2 separate regions of the Homo sapiens genome follow, and region 2 is linked to region 1. Evidence: promoter capture Hi-C in 16 types of primary human blood cells and fetal thymus (Javierre and others, 2016). All regions are on one chromosome and are shown on one strand. Each heading gives the region's core, a stretch centred on a gene start or on the middle of the fragment in contact. The rest is flanking DNA. Distances are from core to core; before and after follow the strand shown. Region 1 holds the start of STK17B (serine/threonine kinase 17b). Region 2 overlaps LOC124905959 (a long non-coding RNA gene).

Region 1 (7,287 bases), core at 3,060-5,559:
ATTCTGTTCAGTGTTTAAAGGGCAGCATCCTTTTACTTTTGTGCCTAAGCAACCAGCATGGTATCTGCCACCCGGTAGGAATTTTAAAAATGTTTGATGAACTGAATTGTAAGAATTATGAGATATAGAAAAAAGAATTTGTAGGTATATCTCATGTCTTCGAGGGGTTAGGAGAACTTGAGATCCATCTTGAATTTACAGTACTGGAGCTCTGAATGCAGCTAGTCTCTGCTTAATTCAGCATTTGGACAAATAAAGTAACTATTTTAAATTGCACTTACAAAATGTCAGTTCTAAACAGGTAGCCACAAAGTCTGGAAACACAGATAAAATTATTTTGTCATATACTATAATGTAATGCCAATAGACCTTTTGTTTTTACCACTGTTTCCAGACAAGGTGGCTACTTGTTTTTAATATAAGCTACTAATACAAATACCTACTGCAGTTAAGAACATCACTCTTTTAAGAGCCTCCAAAAATCAGGAGATTCAGGTAAGTGTCCTATCAAGATTTATCACTGATAAGTCTAGATCATCATGAAGTACATTGGAAAGGCAACAGGAAGCAAAGTAAGCCCGAAGATTCTAAGGGAAGCAACTCCTTTCTACATAGGCATTTAAGGCATTTACTGCTAGCAAGCTTTCCCTAGGAAACTGAAAAAGAGATTTAACGTCCATCAAAAGTAAAGGAAGAACTTTCTCCTGGTGTGGCAGAAGTATGTGTTTTTAATTAGTCATTGATTAGAAGTATTGGTATCAAGATGGAAATGATGATGATTTTCAATTTCAAGGAAGAGATTATATTCCTCATATGTATTCTGCCAACAGGTTTTGTTTTTTAAAATATTTTGAACAGAAAATATAATTCATAAACTTAATCCTCTAAAAATCACAATAGGAAGTCAGCTAAACTAACTCTAATCCAACCATTCTAGTATATACTATCCAAGGGCTGAAGTGTCAGGCAATGACTCCTAGGCCTGACTCTGTGCCAAGACCCTAAGGCCTAATGCTGTGTCTTCCCACCTCCAGAAAAAGAGTTAAACCTGTTAATTGTGAACCAGGATAAAAGGTTGAAAAACGGAAATAGAGTGGGGGATTCCGGGGTGGGCAACAAATGCATGGTGCTTGTCACTCACAAGACGGAAAATTGGGTTTCTGTTGTAAAATATTGTTTACTTAATAGCACCGCTTAAGTACTATTTATTCAGTAACTATTACAATGCAAAATGGAATCTGCCTTTAAGGATTAAAGAGGAAATTACCATCTCACTGTTAAAATTTTTCAATGCTTACAGTATCACTACACCCTCTTTTGGAGTAATTGCAAAGGGTCAGGGATGAACCAAAATACAATGCATATAAATATTAAAAGAAACTAATATATATGTTTTAAATGGCACTGAAGTTTGAGGTTAAATGTTCTGGAAAAAGGATAATAAAAAACTTAATAAAGTATGCCCTGAAAATTGCAACATTACAACATATTTAAATAAAAATACATGCTTGTAACTTTATAAGAACATTTCTTAACTGAAATATTCAAAGAAATAGCCTTTGATAACAGCCCAGCATAGAATACAAACTACAGTACTTAAACATAAAATCACTGAATTTTGTCATCAATATTATGAAAAACTAAAGCAACTGACATTTGAAGTTTTCCTAAGTGGAAAGGTAGTAGATAAATGACTGCTAATGTTTCTGACAAAACAAATACCCATACAGTGCAGAAGATTTCTTTATGAAAAGAAGAATCAATCAGTATCCTTTAAAAGTAGTAAGCCTAGGAATACTATTTTTTTTTTTTTTTTTTTTTTTTTTGAGACGGAGTCTCCCTCTGTTGCCCAGGCTGGAGTGCAGTGGCGTGATCTCGGCTCACTGCAACCTCGGCCTTCCGGGTCAAGCAACTCTTCTGCCTCAGCCTCCCGAGTAGCTGGGACTACAGGCGCGCGCCACAATGCCCGGCTAATTTTTGTATTTTTAGTAGACACGGGGTTTCACCATATTGGTCTCGAACGCCTGACCTTATGATCCGCCCGCCTCGGCCTCCCAAAGTGCTGGGATTACAGGCTTGAGCCACTGCGCCCGGCCAGAATACTATTCTTAACTGCCAATCTTACATACAGAAAATGTGAATTACAATATACTATGCATGCAATTTTAAGGCAATTTAACGATTAAGTGAAAGTGTTATTAACTGAATTCCTTGACTTCTTGTGTCTCTAAAATTAAAGCAAAAATATTTTCATAAGGAAATTCTCCCTTATAATTATCAAAGAGCTTTAAAACATGTTAAAATGTTCACTTAACAAAAGTAAAACAGAGCAAGCTTAAAAATAAAATTATCTGATTAGAAACGTCAGCCATAAAAATGCTTGTATCTTCTTCAAATTTGTTACTCATATGCTAACACAGCGATTAGTCAAACCTCCAACTTCCTAAAAACGCATTCTATCTTAACCAAATCGTAATTCACTAATCAATGATCCCAAGAGAAACCGCAACCATTCTATTCACACACAAAAAAGGATGGTCTTCAATTACAGAAATTCTACTTTTAAAAAGTCTTGCCATGTAAGCAAATATATTTCACCTCAATTTTGGATCCCTACTTTAGAAAAAAAAAAAGATCTAAAATGTACAATATGTATCTCAAAAATAAAACATCTATTAATACCTCCAATTATTAAGATACTAGAAAAAGTTTAATTGAGCATCTGCTCAGAGGAGGAGGATCCGAGGCAGATGAGTTTAAAACTTTTGCACCGCTTCTATGGACCAGTTTTCTTAAAAAATACACAATCCTAGGGGTACACGGTCTAATATTTATAAAATAAGCACTTGTTGAAAATTACTTCCGAACAGTTCACCATAAAACTAAAAAACAGTGTTATCAATGAGAAAGTAGGTTTATTTTCCTTTAATAAAATTGTGCTCCTGGGTTCAAAATGCCAGGTTACATACGCTGCCACTCATTTCTACAGAGCTATGCTGTCTCCGCGCAGACATTCTCATAGACTTGAAAACGTAAAGTGGCCACACCACGTCAAACGTCCCTGGCAAGGTTCTGCTTATCATTAGCACCACAGATGTAAACATTACGTCGACAAAACAATCGGTGAATGTGATACACAGTCCTCATGTGTTTAAATATTAGTGAAATCTGATAAGTATTACGATTTTAAAAACGTATTTTCTTAATTCCAATTTCCAAATTGATGTCAGAGTGCCTCTAGTCCAGACAGAAACTAATGCCAGCTACCAGCTGCTATAAAGCCTCTTTCAACTTTGTCTCTACTTCTCCCTCGGAGGAAATTCAAATGAAACGCTTTTCCCTACAATAAAACAAAGAGCCTGGGTAAATGTCAAAAATCGTTGGCATCCAGTAGTGGTATAGTTTGAGGATGAGTCGTGCACACTAAGTGGGTCACAAGGCATCAAAGCAAAAATCAGATCGCTGAAAATCACGGAAACAGCTGTAGCCCGTCTTGATCTCTCGCTGGTTTTAAAACACTGTTCCCAAGCAGTAACTGAAAACGTCCCACAAGATGAACACGAACTTTCTCTAGACGAAAGGCAGCTGGGAGCAGGACGCGTCCACGAGTCCCGATGGGAACGCGCCCACGCCGCAGCTGGGACTCGGGAGAGGCTAGGGGGACCGCGTGGCCTTGCTGTGGAAGGGACCCGCGCGGGCCCGCCGCGAAGGGGGCCCTGCCTGGCGCGACCTGGGGAGAGCCGGGGCCGGCCGGGTGGAGGGCGCACGGGGACACACGGACACGCACAGACACAGACACGCGCCCCGGGCTGAGGAGGGTGGTGGGAGGACCGCCGGCCGCCCCCCGCGCGGAGCCCCAGGGAACCCGGACTCCAGCCGCAAAGCGGAGAGGCGCCAGCAGCAATCAGCCACCTCAGGGGCGGCGGAGTCCAAGCCCCTCTCAGCCGGACCGTACCGCCTAAACCCTCCTCGGGTCCTCCTTCCTCACGTATGAGGTCTCTGTACCGAGGCGGCTGGTTCCATCGCAGCCCCGAGCCAACCCGCCAATCCCGCAGGACACTAACCGCTCCGGCCGCCGCAGGTTCTCCCGGGACTGCCCCCTCCAGGGGGCCGCTGTCCCGCCCCACGCCGGGGGCCGCCACAGGACGAGTTCTCTAGCTCCAGCCGGGCGAGGCGCCAGGGAGCTCCGAACGTGGCAGGATCCACTTTTACTTTTCCAGACAAGGGCCGACGGTTGTGACCTGGCTTCTCGTGAAGTGACTCCTGGCGACAGCAGCGGAGAGGACTACCGAAGCTTGCAGTCGCGGTTTGAAAACTGCAGCCGCGTCTGGGGCATCGCCGTTCGCCAGATCCCTCCCCCTAGGTCGGGAGAGCCAATCGGAACGGGTGCGGAGGGTGGGTCTGTCACGTGACGGGAGGGGCGGGGCACCGGCCGGGGGCGCGTGTGCGGGGCGGGGCCCGGCGGTGAGAGGGTGCGGCGCCTGGCTGGCCCGAGGCGGGGCGGGGAGGCGCGGCGGCGTGGCGGCGCAGGTGGGGCGCACTCGGGCTGCCGCGAGGGAGGGGCGGAGGGGGCGGCGCTGCAGAGGGGGCGCGCGGGGCTGGAACTACTGCTCTGTGTACTCCTTCCCACCTTCAGAGAGGTCAGTTCGAGAGGTGTGAATATCCGGAGACCGGGGAGAAGGAAGCCGCAAAATTCGTCCCAGCTGCCTGCGACTAGTTACCAAACTTCAGTGCCTACCAAAGACCTATTTTCTGACTCTTCTTGAGAGTCTTCCTTAGGACCGGAACGTACCCTGTAAGTGGAGAACCCAGTTTGCTACAACTTGGCAGAGGTTCCTCGGAGTGTCAACATCAGTTGGGGATTTATGGAACCTAGACCCCACTGCTAACGTCCGCTGTCGCGAATGGTGTCCCTTCTGAGGCACTGACTGAAGGCAGTGTAGGGAGGGTCCCAATAGGCTGAATAGCCGATTTTGCATTTATAGTGCTAAGGAAAAAGATGAAAGCCCTCAGCAACCTACTCAAGATCTGTTATCCTTTGAAGACAGTGGAAATTTTCAAAGTTCTGTGCAAGACACAAATGTTTTACATAGATATATAATCCTAGTTTATATGTATAGGATACACACATACTCATACATATATGGGATTAGTTATGTAATCTAGGATTGCTTTCAGAGGACATTTACGATAATTGCAGAAAACCCTTCCGTGGGAAAGGATACTGGGAGTGGAGTCGTCCTCTTGCTTTCAAAAGACTTAATGTTCAGTTAGCATATAAAGGACAGGTTTTCTTGTTCTATCCCAGTAAGCCAAGCAAATTCCTGTGAAGCTAGCTGTTTCCCTTTCCTACTGCATTTTCCCCAAGATAAAGGTATAGAATGCATCACAGCCCTTTTATGAAGTCTGTTTGTTGTTACTTAGGTTAACTCCTCCTCCCAGGTTAATAATGTCTTGCCCCTAAACCTTGTCAAATGGAGAATATTGCTTCCATCTATCTAATTTCTTGTTGCTAACAATTGGGCTGACTAGAGAAGCCTAAAGTTAGGATGAAAATAAAATGCCACACACTGGAATTAACTTTTCTGGGGTATAAGAATCCGTAAGCAATGAGACTGTTCCCATCTTTTCTTTCATGAGCATAGGTGTTGCATTCCAGAGGTCTCAGCACCAGTACCAAAACTAGTAACCTCTTGGGGGTCACAGGATTACATCATTATGGTGGTTTTGGGGTTGTGTGTTTAACTTTGGACCTCCTTAATTTCAACATTTCATCAATTGCCAGCTTTTAGCAATCTTCTCACACTCACCCCATACTCCCCGTCACTAATCCAGTCCCAGATCACTTCACACCTAGACACAGACTTTTCTCTCTCTGGCACCACTGTAAGCCAGTCCTCTTGGTCACAATACCTCTGCTGTAACCAGCCAGCCTCCTAGGGATATTGTCATGTCTTGCATTTTCCTGCTTCTGCCTTAGCTCCAGCTTATCACCATCCTCCTCATCCATACCTGTTCATCAGTTTCTGACTTTAAGAAGGTTACCCTCTTCAGGAATCAGAACTCTGCTGATTCCTACTTTCTGTTCCCAGCCTGATCACCTCTGCCTTATGTTCTTTGGTGCAGGGCTGATAGTTTGTGTTTCTTTTATGACCCTAAATAGATTGTTAACCCTTGTGCCTGATGTCAGATTTGTTAACTAGGACTTACCACACTATCCCAAGGACATTCAACTACACTTACTTGGTCTCAGGCACTGTGGTTCAAGTAACAAGGAATTCCTGGTGCTGAGGAGGAGGCAGTACATCTGTGGCCTTGCAGGAAAATTCAGAAGTCAATACATTCCTCCATCCACCTCATTTACCTAAACTCATTCATCACCGTGTCAAAGATATATGTTCCTGCTCTCATTCCCTTGAGTAGGAAATCTCCAGGTGACCTGATGGTCATTCTGTGGTCATTGCTTCTGACCACACAGTTCATTAAGTTGACCATCCTTGAATGACACATTCCGACCAGGGATGGCGGTTGTTATGGGCTCAGTTGTGTTCTTTTCCAGTTCATACGTTGAAATTCTAACCCTCAGGAACTCAGAGTATGACCGTATGTGGAGATAGGGCCTTTAAAGAGGTAATTAAGGTAAAATGAGATAATATGAGTGGCCCCTGATCCAAGATGACTGGTGTCCTGATAAGAAGAAATTAGGACACATACAACACTGACTAAGGGACCACCCTGTGAGGACATAACAAGAAGGTGGCCATTTGCAAAGCAAGCAGAGAGGTTTCAGAAGAAACAAGACCTGCTGATATCTTGATCAACAGCCTCTAGCCTCCAGAACTGTCTGTTGTTTAAGCTGTCCGCTCTGTGGTATTTGTTATGGCAGTCCAAGCAAACAAATACAGTGGTCCTCCTGGATCACTCCAGGTTAGTAATCACACACTGACTGGGAGCGATGATCGTTCCCAGTCACTGCTTACCACATGTGGCCAGGGAAGGTGATCCTCTCCGGTAATGGCACGACACTCACCATATTCTGTCCAGGGAAGGGACCTTCCCCAGTCACATCAAGTCAGTCACCGCATACTGACCACATAATGATCAAGGAAAGTGATTCTCACCGATTCCATGTTTACTCCCTGTAGATGCAGAAAAGGAGGGTTTTGCACAGAGCAGAAGGCCTCAAACTCAAAACTCTTGCCACTGACACACCCTCCTTCTGAAGAATTCATGTGGAAAAGGCAAAACAAGCTCTACTACCTGTCTAGAACTGAATATACCAGAAAC
Region 2 (7,287 bases), core at 1,675-4,174, 4.6 Mb before region 1:
TATAGACCTTTGTGTAGTCTTCTCTCACATTGTACCAAAGTTGGTCTGTGTGACCAATAAAATATGGCAAAAGTGATGTTATTTCACTTCTGAGATTAGATTACAAAAGACTATGGCTTCTGTCACAGCTCCTGCCCTTGCCTCTCTCTCTCTCTCTCTTTCTTGGATCACCTCGGATCACTTCCTCTCAGGGAAAGTATGTCATAAACAGCTCTGCGGAGAATCTAGGCAGCAAGGAGCTGATGCCTCCTGCCAAACACCACATAAATGGGCTTGGATGCAGATCCTTCAGACTTGGCCAAGCCTAACTCCTAGATAATGAGAGACCTCGAATCAATACCTAGCCAAGCCACTCCAGATTCTTGACCTACAGAAACAATGAGGCAATAAATGTATGTTGACCACCCACATTTGGTGGTTGGTCAGGATTCACAAGACTCACAAGAAGGCTATATTCACAGCTACAGTTTATTATGGCAAAGGATACAGCGAAAATAGCAGGATAAATATTTTTACTGGGCGGAGTCCAGAGAGGACCAGTATAGGCTTCAGAGTCCTTCTTCATTAGAGGCCACACAGGATGTACTTTCTCTCTAGCAGCAACTTACAGAAACATTTGTGAAATATCTCTACCTAGGATCCAAAGAATTTTTGGTATGCTGGTCACATAAGCATATCTTGCTATGCAACCAACTATGGCAACTGAAATACAGGACTCCAAGAATGAAGCCAGGTGCACATCATTAATCTTGATACTTATACAAAGCAACCTGAAAAGCTAGTATAGCACAGTCCATTGCTTCAGGTGTACACAACAAAATCATCAGTCCCTGACATCCAAGAGCCATATTCTTAGTGATTGGCAAAGGATCAATCATGGTTCTAGGTTCTGTTGGAGCCATGCAAGGAATATATGACCACACCTGCTCTGCTAACTCTTTCCTCACAAAATGTGGCCAACAGTCAGCACTAAATGCAAAATATATAGATAAATGAGACTTTAGATAATTCCAGCCCCCAGACTTCAAGTCTTCCAGCTTAGCCCCCAAGCACTTTAAAGAAGAAACAAGGATTCCCCACTGTGTTCTGCCAGGATTCTTGACTCACAGAAACTACATGAAATAAGAAATGTTTATTGTTTGAAGTCACAAACTCTTGGGGTAGTTTGTTATACAGCAATAGATTAATATACAGGGTAATATTTTCCTATTCTTTGCATGTGTGGCAATTTTTTATTGAATGACCAATATGAATTTTATATTTTAGGAAACTGGAGTTTGTTGTATTTCATTGAACAGTACTAGGCTTTTGTTTCATTGCTAGCTAAGTTACAAGTAGAATCCTCTTGAGGATTGCTCTCAAGTTTGTTAGGGTGGGTCCAGGACAGTCTTTATCTTAGGGCTAACTTATATCTACTACTAACCTGATAACAAGCCAGGTGCAGTGGCTCACCCTGTAATCCCAGCACTTTGGGAGGCCAATGTGGGCAGATCACTTGGGGTCAGGAGTTTGAGACCAGCCTGGCCAACATGGTGAAACTCTGTCTCTACCAAAAATACAAAAATTAGCCAGATATGGTGGTGTGTGCCTGTAATCCCAGCTACTCGGGAGGCTGAGGCATGAGAATCACTTGAACCTAGGAGGTGGAGGTTTCAGTGAGCTGAGATCGTGACACTGCGCTCCAGCCTGGGTGACAGAGTGAGACTGTTTCTCGAAATAATAATAATAATAATAATAATAAAACTGATAGCTGTCTACAGACTATTTGGAGGATTGGTAAACTTTTTTGGTAGTGGACACATAGTAAATATTTTAGGCTTTGCAGGCCACACACTGTCTGTTGCATATATTTCTTTGTTTTTTCAATCCTTCAAGAATATACACATCATTCTTAGCTTGTGAGCTGTTGAAAAAGTCTGTGGGCTGGGTGTGGCCTGTGAGCTGTAGTTTGCCAACACCTGATGTCCTTTGCATTAAGAGGTCTTTCTATTCTGGCTGAAAGGACAATTAACTAGTCCAAGCCTTGTGTAAGTTCCAAACATTTTTCTGCCTACTCATTCTCATGGTTCTTTCCCCAGCCTTGGGTGGTTTCCTCTCATGCTTGTCCAGATTAGCACTCAGTCAAATACCTGAAGGGACCTCTCTGTAGATTTCCCAGGCCCTGAAGCTCCCTCCTTGATGGTACTCAGGGTTACAAATCCTAAACACCTTAAGCGCTCTGAACTCTGATCTTTCTGTACTCAGTGAGACTGCAGATTCCTTCTGGGTTCCCCCTTCCAGTGCTGTTATTTTCTTACATATAGTTACTCCTCTGTGTTGGTTCCTATCTATACCGAACATAAATTTCTAACAGAAACTGTTTTGTTCTACTTAATGTCTTCCTTGTTAAACACAGTACCATATTAACACATATGCAGATCATCATCGTGCCATTAACAAAAGCTATATCTCAATGGCCACAAGATTTCTAGTTGAAACAAATCTTAAATGATCTATCTGATCTTAGTCCAATTGTAAGCTTTCCTAGTTGTAAACATGTACCTTTGAGGGTCATACTCTACTTTTAAGGTAGCCCATTTCACTGTTGGACAGCAATAATTATCAGAAAATGTACTTCATAATGAGCTAAAATATAATTCCTTATCACATGGACTTTTCAGTTCTTATTAAATTTATGTTTAACCTAAATCTAGAGGACCTTTTCTTACCAATTGCTGTTAACCCTTGTTGTGCATTATTGATTCAGTCTGTGAATGTCTTGAGTGTCTTCTCTGTGCCAGGCTCTGTGCTGAGTTTGGGCTTGTGGAGGTGAGAAAAGGGAGGTAATGAATGGGCCTCATGCATCTTTCAGCTTGGTGGGTTATTTAGAGAGAAATCTAAGCATGCAAATATGTGTAAAAGTTACAATGTGGTATGTGCCCTGAAGAAGCATAGTGTGATGACACTAGGTATAGGAAGATTTGTCCTAGTCAGGGAAGTTAGGGAAGACATTCTTGAGGAGCTAATGATTTGAGATCTGAAAGCAAAGTAGGAGATAATCAGACAAAATAAAGATGAGAGATTTTTAGGAAGAGGGGTCAGCCTGAATGAAGGTACTGGGGTGAAAGAGAGCAACTGTTTTTTAAATCTAAATGTAGGACTTTCAGATAACCCTGTTAAATACTCACTCAATGAATACACTCAATCTCAGAAATATCACTCTATCACCGAAAACATGTTTCTGATATTTTTGGTGTACTTGTAGAAGCAGATTTAATTCCAATGTAAGAAAGCATTTTGCATTGCTCTTTGGAAAGGTATTATTGTCCCTACCTCAGGTTTTGTGGGGCCAGAAGCTTATACAGGGCCCCCACTCTGGGGGCCCTTTTAAAGAAAAAAATGTAAATGATACATACAAAATTTAGCACAGGGCCTGGAAGAAGGCCTTGGCAGTGAGAGGCACCAAATGAAACGTTTCATTAGGTTCAGGGTAAAAAATCTACCTACTGTCTTTAGAGATTTGGACAAAGGGTACATGACCATATGTTGGTGACGTAATGAAGAGATTTCATATTGTATAGAAATTTGGACTTGATAGACCTGTAAGTTTCCTCCAGATTCAAAGATTTTGTGTTTACTTAGCTTACATTTGAGAATGGAATAGGTCAAAGTTAGCCTCCTTGCATTCTTGGCCCCCTGCCCCTACTCAGCTAGTTTGTAGAATTAATTATCTGATGGCCAAACAATGATGGGGTGTTGGCTGGATGCGGTGGCTCACATCTGTAATCCCAGCACTTTGGGAGGCCGAGGCAGGTGAATCACTTGAGGTCAGGATTTCAAGACCAGCCTGACCAACATGGAGAAATCCCGTCTCTACTAAAAATACAAAATTAGCTGGGCATGGTGGTGCATTCCTGTAATACCAGCTACTTGGGAGGCTGAGGCAGGAGAATCGTTTGAATCCAGGAGGTGGAGGTTGCAGTGAGCCGAGATCATGCCATTGCACTCCAGCCTGGGCAACAAGAGCAAAATTCCATCTCAAAAAAAAAAGAAAAAGAAAAAAGATGTGGTGTTTGGGACTGTGTGGGTGTTGGGGATAGTAGGGCATATACTTTAGACTATGAAGTAAATGAATCCTAATGTTAAATGCCTGGCTTCCACCTCTAGTCAATTGTTTTGTTCTAGCACTCACATCTCAAGTCATAGAATGAGAGCTAAAATGTCTTATGAATCAAAGGCTGGGTTTGAGTCACATGCCAACCAATGTGTGCTCATGGAGAACACCTCAGTGACAGCCCAGAGACAGCACCTCCAGCCCACCCTTGACTATTCACCTCACACCCGACTCCTCTGTCCAGAGGAGGTTTGAGGAGAGGGGATGGATGTTGTAGTGCTATCCATCATCCCTGCTGTGTACATGCATTATGGTGCTTACATTGCACCACTGTGAGAAGGAAAAGAGTGCGTATTGTGAATGAGGACTTCCTACCCCACAACAAAAATAGAATCTTTGCAGCCAATTATGTGCTGAAGCATTATTATAAAACAGGAAGAATCCTAACAACAACAAAAGATTAAGAGCAGCACTATGTATGTATGAGTACTTCTGCATTCCCAGAGCAGTTGTCTGGACTGATTATAAAGCTCTTAGCAAACTTTAATTAGCGCTCACAGGTTGGTGAGTTACATGGCTAAAGTTCTTGCTAGTGTGGTCACCAGAGAAGTAAACTCAGGTGAGGTTAAATGGTCAATTCATGGACACCTGGCCATGCTCATCTGTGTTTGCTTTTCCAGTTTGTCAGGTTCTTTGGAATCTGACTTGTTAGCAGCTCTGCCAGGCCCCATCCCCTTGCTTGCAGGTGCTCACGTCTGAAGATAATGTGTTAATCATATCAGCTCATGAGCCTGGGGTTCAGCCACACCAAGTCTGGACCTGCTGGCTTTCTTTGGAGTCAATCTGCAAAGGACATCTCCGAGTCCAGGGATAACAGTCCTGGAGTCAGTAGATTGTGTCTGAGCTCACCTGCCAGGCATGATGTGGAAACAAGGACACTGCTTTTCAGTAGGCAATAATTGACTTCAAAGGGCTCCAAGTTGGTTTAAGATTTTTCTGCTTTAACATTTAGGAACAGTGGAAAAACATACTTTTGTTATTTGTGTATTCTTAGAAATGGCTAACACTTCTAAGAAGATGGGAAAATTTTAAGGCTATTAAGGAGACAAAAAATGAAATCCCCTTGAAGATACGTAAAGACCTAGCGCTTCTCTGTCCTGTGTGTCTCCCACCCCACCCAGGCTTATAGGGTATCTTTGGTTTGCGCCCCATGAAGACACATGTGAGTTCTATCTCAGGCAGGGGCTCTGGGATCAATGGTGGGCGAGTGAGTTTGTTTACCCTGGATTCAGCCTCTGCTCCTTAGGAATTTCTCAAACATTAAGTTTCCTTTAATATTATCCATTCATCAATATGCTGATACAAATCTACTTCAAATCTATATACATTTTTTTTTTTGGTCCAGCCAATAATTGAGAGAAGACTAGAATATTGACTATTACCTATTAGGCAAGGGTTGATTGTCTTTCATGTATCCTAAAGCAAGGCTTCAAACTTCACAAGTTTTCATCAGGCCTGGCACTCTGAGGTTTGGAGGAAACAGCACCTGTCTACCCAGACTTTATCTCATAATTTCCAAAACTGCAGTTCTGTTCCTTCTCTTTCTCCTGGTCCCTTCTGTCCTCATTTCTAAGTCCCTTCTTTCCCTTCAAATTTTCATTCTCTCTCTAGGCCTTTTCTTTTTATCTGATGTCTTTTTAAAATTATTCATATCGGGTTTTTACATAGTCATTCATCTTTCACTGTGGTTTTTGTTCAAGGATACTCTGATGATTTACTTTTATGCTTTATAAAAAATGTTTTGTGTATAAAAACTCACAATTTATGACTTTTTTTTGGTCTCAGCAGCTAATTGAACTGATAGATTTAGGAAAGAATTAACAACAATTCCTGGTGTTTTTCTTAACTTTTAACTAATAGCTCAGAATCCACCTTCCCATAGGAGAAACTTTTTTTTTTTTTGCTTAAATTCCTCATTATTCTTGTGTACATCAAAGCTCATTTCTCTGTCTCCTTGCAGGGTCCAGTCATCTCTTCCTTTCTCATCAGTGAGTTGGTGGCTCCACACCTAGAAAACCTTAAAGTTTGCAATAATACCAACAGGTTAAATAAAAGAGTTGTCCTGAGACATGGGCTTGGTGAGGGGAGCCTATGGGATAACTCTTACTTTTCTCTACTCCAGGCATAATCTCAGGACACTGCACCACAGGTGAAAGCTGCCTGGTTAGTGGATTAGTCAGCTCAGGCTGCCATAACAAAGCACCACAGACTGAGTGTCTTAAGCAACGAAAAATTATTTTCTCACAATCCTGGGAGATAGAAGTCCAAGATCAAAGTGTTAGCAGGGTCGGTTTCTTCTGTGGTCTTTCTCCTTGGCTTGTAGACCGCCATCTTCTTTCTGTGTCTTCACAGGGTCTTCCCTCTGTGCCAGTCTGTGTCCTAATCTCTTTTCATAAGGACACCAGTCCTATCAGATTAGGACCTACACTAATGACTCATTTTAACTTAACTACCTCTTTAAAGACCCTATCTCCAAATACAATCATATTCTGAGATACTGGGGATAGGGGGTTCAACATGTGAATTTTGAGGGGGACACAATTCAGCCCATAACAGTATATTAAAAACTCCTCATCTAGACACCATATTTCCAGCAACAACCAAGCTCCCAAGCACAGCTCTAGCCTACAAAGTCTGTGGAGAAGGTGGGTTATACAGTCCCATCAGGGTCAGAGGTTGCAGCTCCCTCTCTTATGTTACAGATTCTTCATAACAAATGTAAACAAGCTGCTTATCTGATTCTCCAAATAGCAGCAAACCAGTGTACAGAGTAATCACCAACCAGAAAAAGCTCAGCTGCAGGGGGCAGGCAGATGTGCCAACAGCAGCAGGAAGTGACTTCAGCATCGAACGGGCAGCAGACAAAACCTTAAATGGGCAAAACTGTATTGTCAGTTACCATGTCACATAATGAGAGCAGAGAGTAACAATACTTCCGAATTTGTCAACAGGAGGTGACGTTATTTTTAAAAACCTATAATAGAAGGCTGTGGAAGTTTTCTCATTAAATACTGTATAGACAAAATTGTTTGAGTATTCGAGGGTGATACACTTGTTATTAGGGTAATTTACCTATGTAAAAATGAAAATATCCAAGTTCTGCTGGATAAATGCTTCTTTCTGTATATGACAAA

Evidence for each region. The method cuts DNA at HindIII sites, captures the fragments that hold promoters and counts their contacts. A CHiCAGO score of 5 or more calls a contact.
Region 2: a fragment that was not itself captured here is called in contact with the fragment with the promoter of STK17B in region 1 in 1 of 17 cell types (total B cells); the score reaches 5.3 in total B cells.

What each region holds. Positions count from the first base shown.
Region 1 is chr2:196,167,269-196,174,555 of GRCh38, forward strand. STK17B (serine/threonine kinase 17b) reads right to left here and starts at 4,310. Exons shown (of 8, transcript NM_004226.4): 1 at 4,065-4,310. It overlaps LOC101927454 (a long non-coding RNA gene), which reads left to right and starts at 4,271. Exons shown (of 2, transcript XR_923737.2): 1 at 4,271-4,363; 2 at 4,637-5,580. RefSeq lists silencers at 3,636-3,855, 4,376-4,605. The HindIII fragment of the contact is 11,036 bases long and covers 4,293-7,287 here.
Region 2 is chr2:191,618,316-191,625,602 of GRCh38, forward strand. The region is part of intron 1 of LOC124905959 (a long non-coding RNA gene); the gene reads left to right. Among named protein-coding and RNA genes, the nearest start is that of NABP1, 56 kb to the right of the region's middle. The HindIII fragment of the contact is 817 bases long and covers 2,517-3,333 here.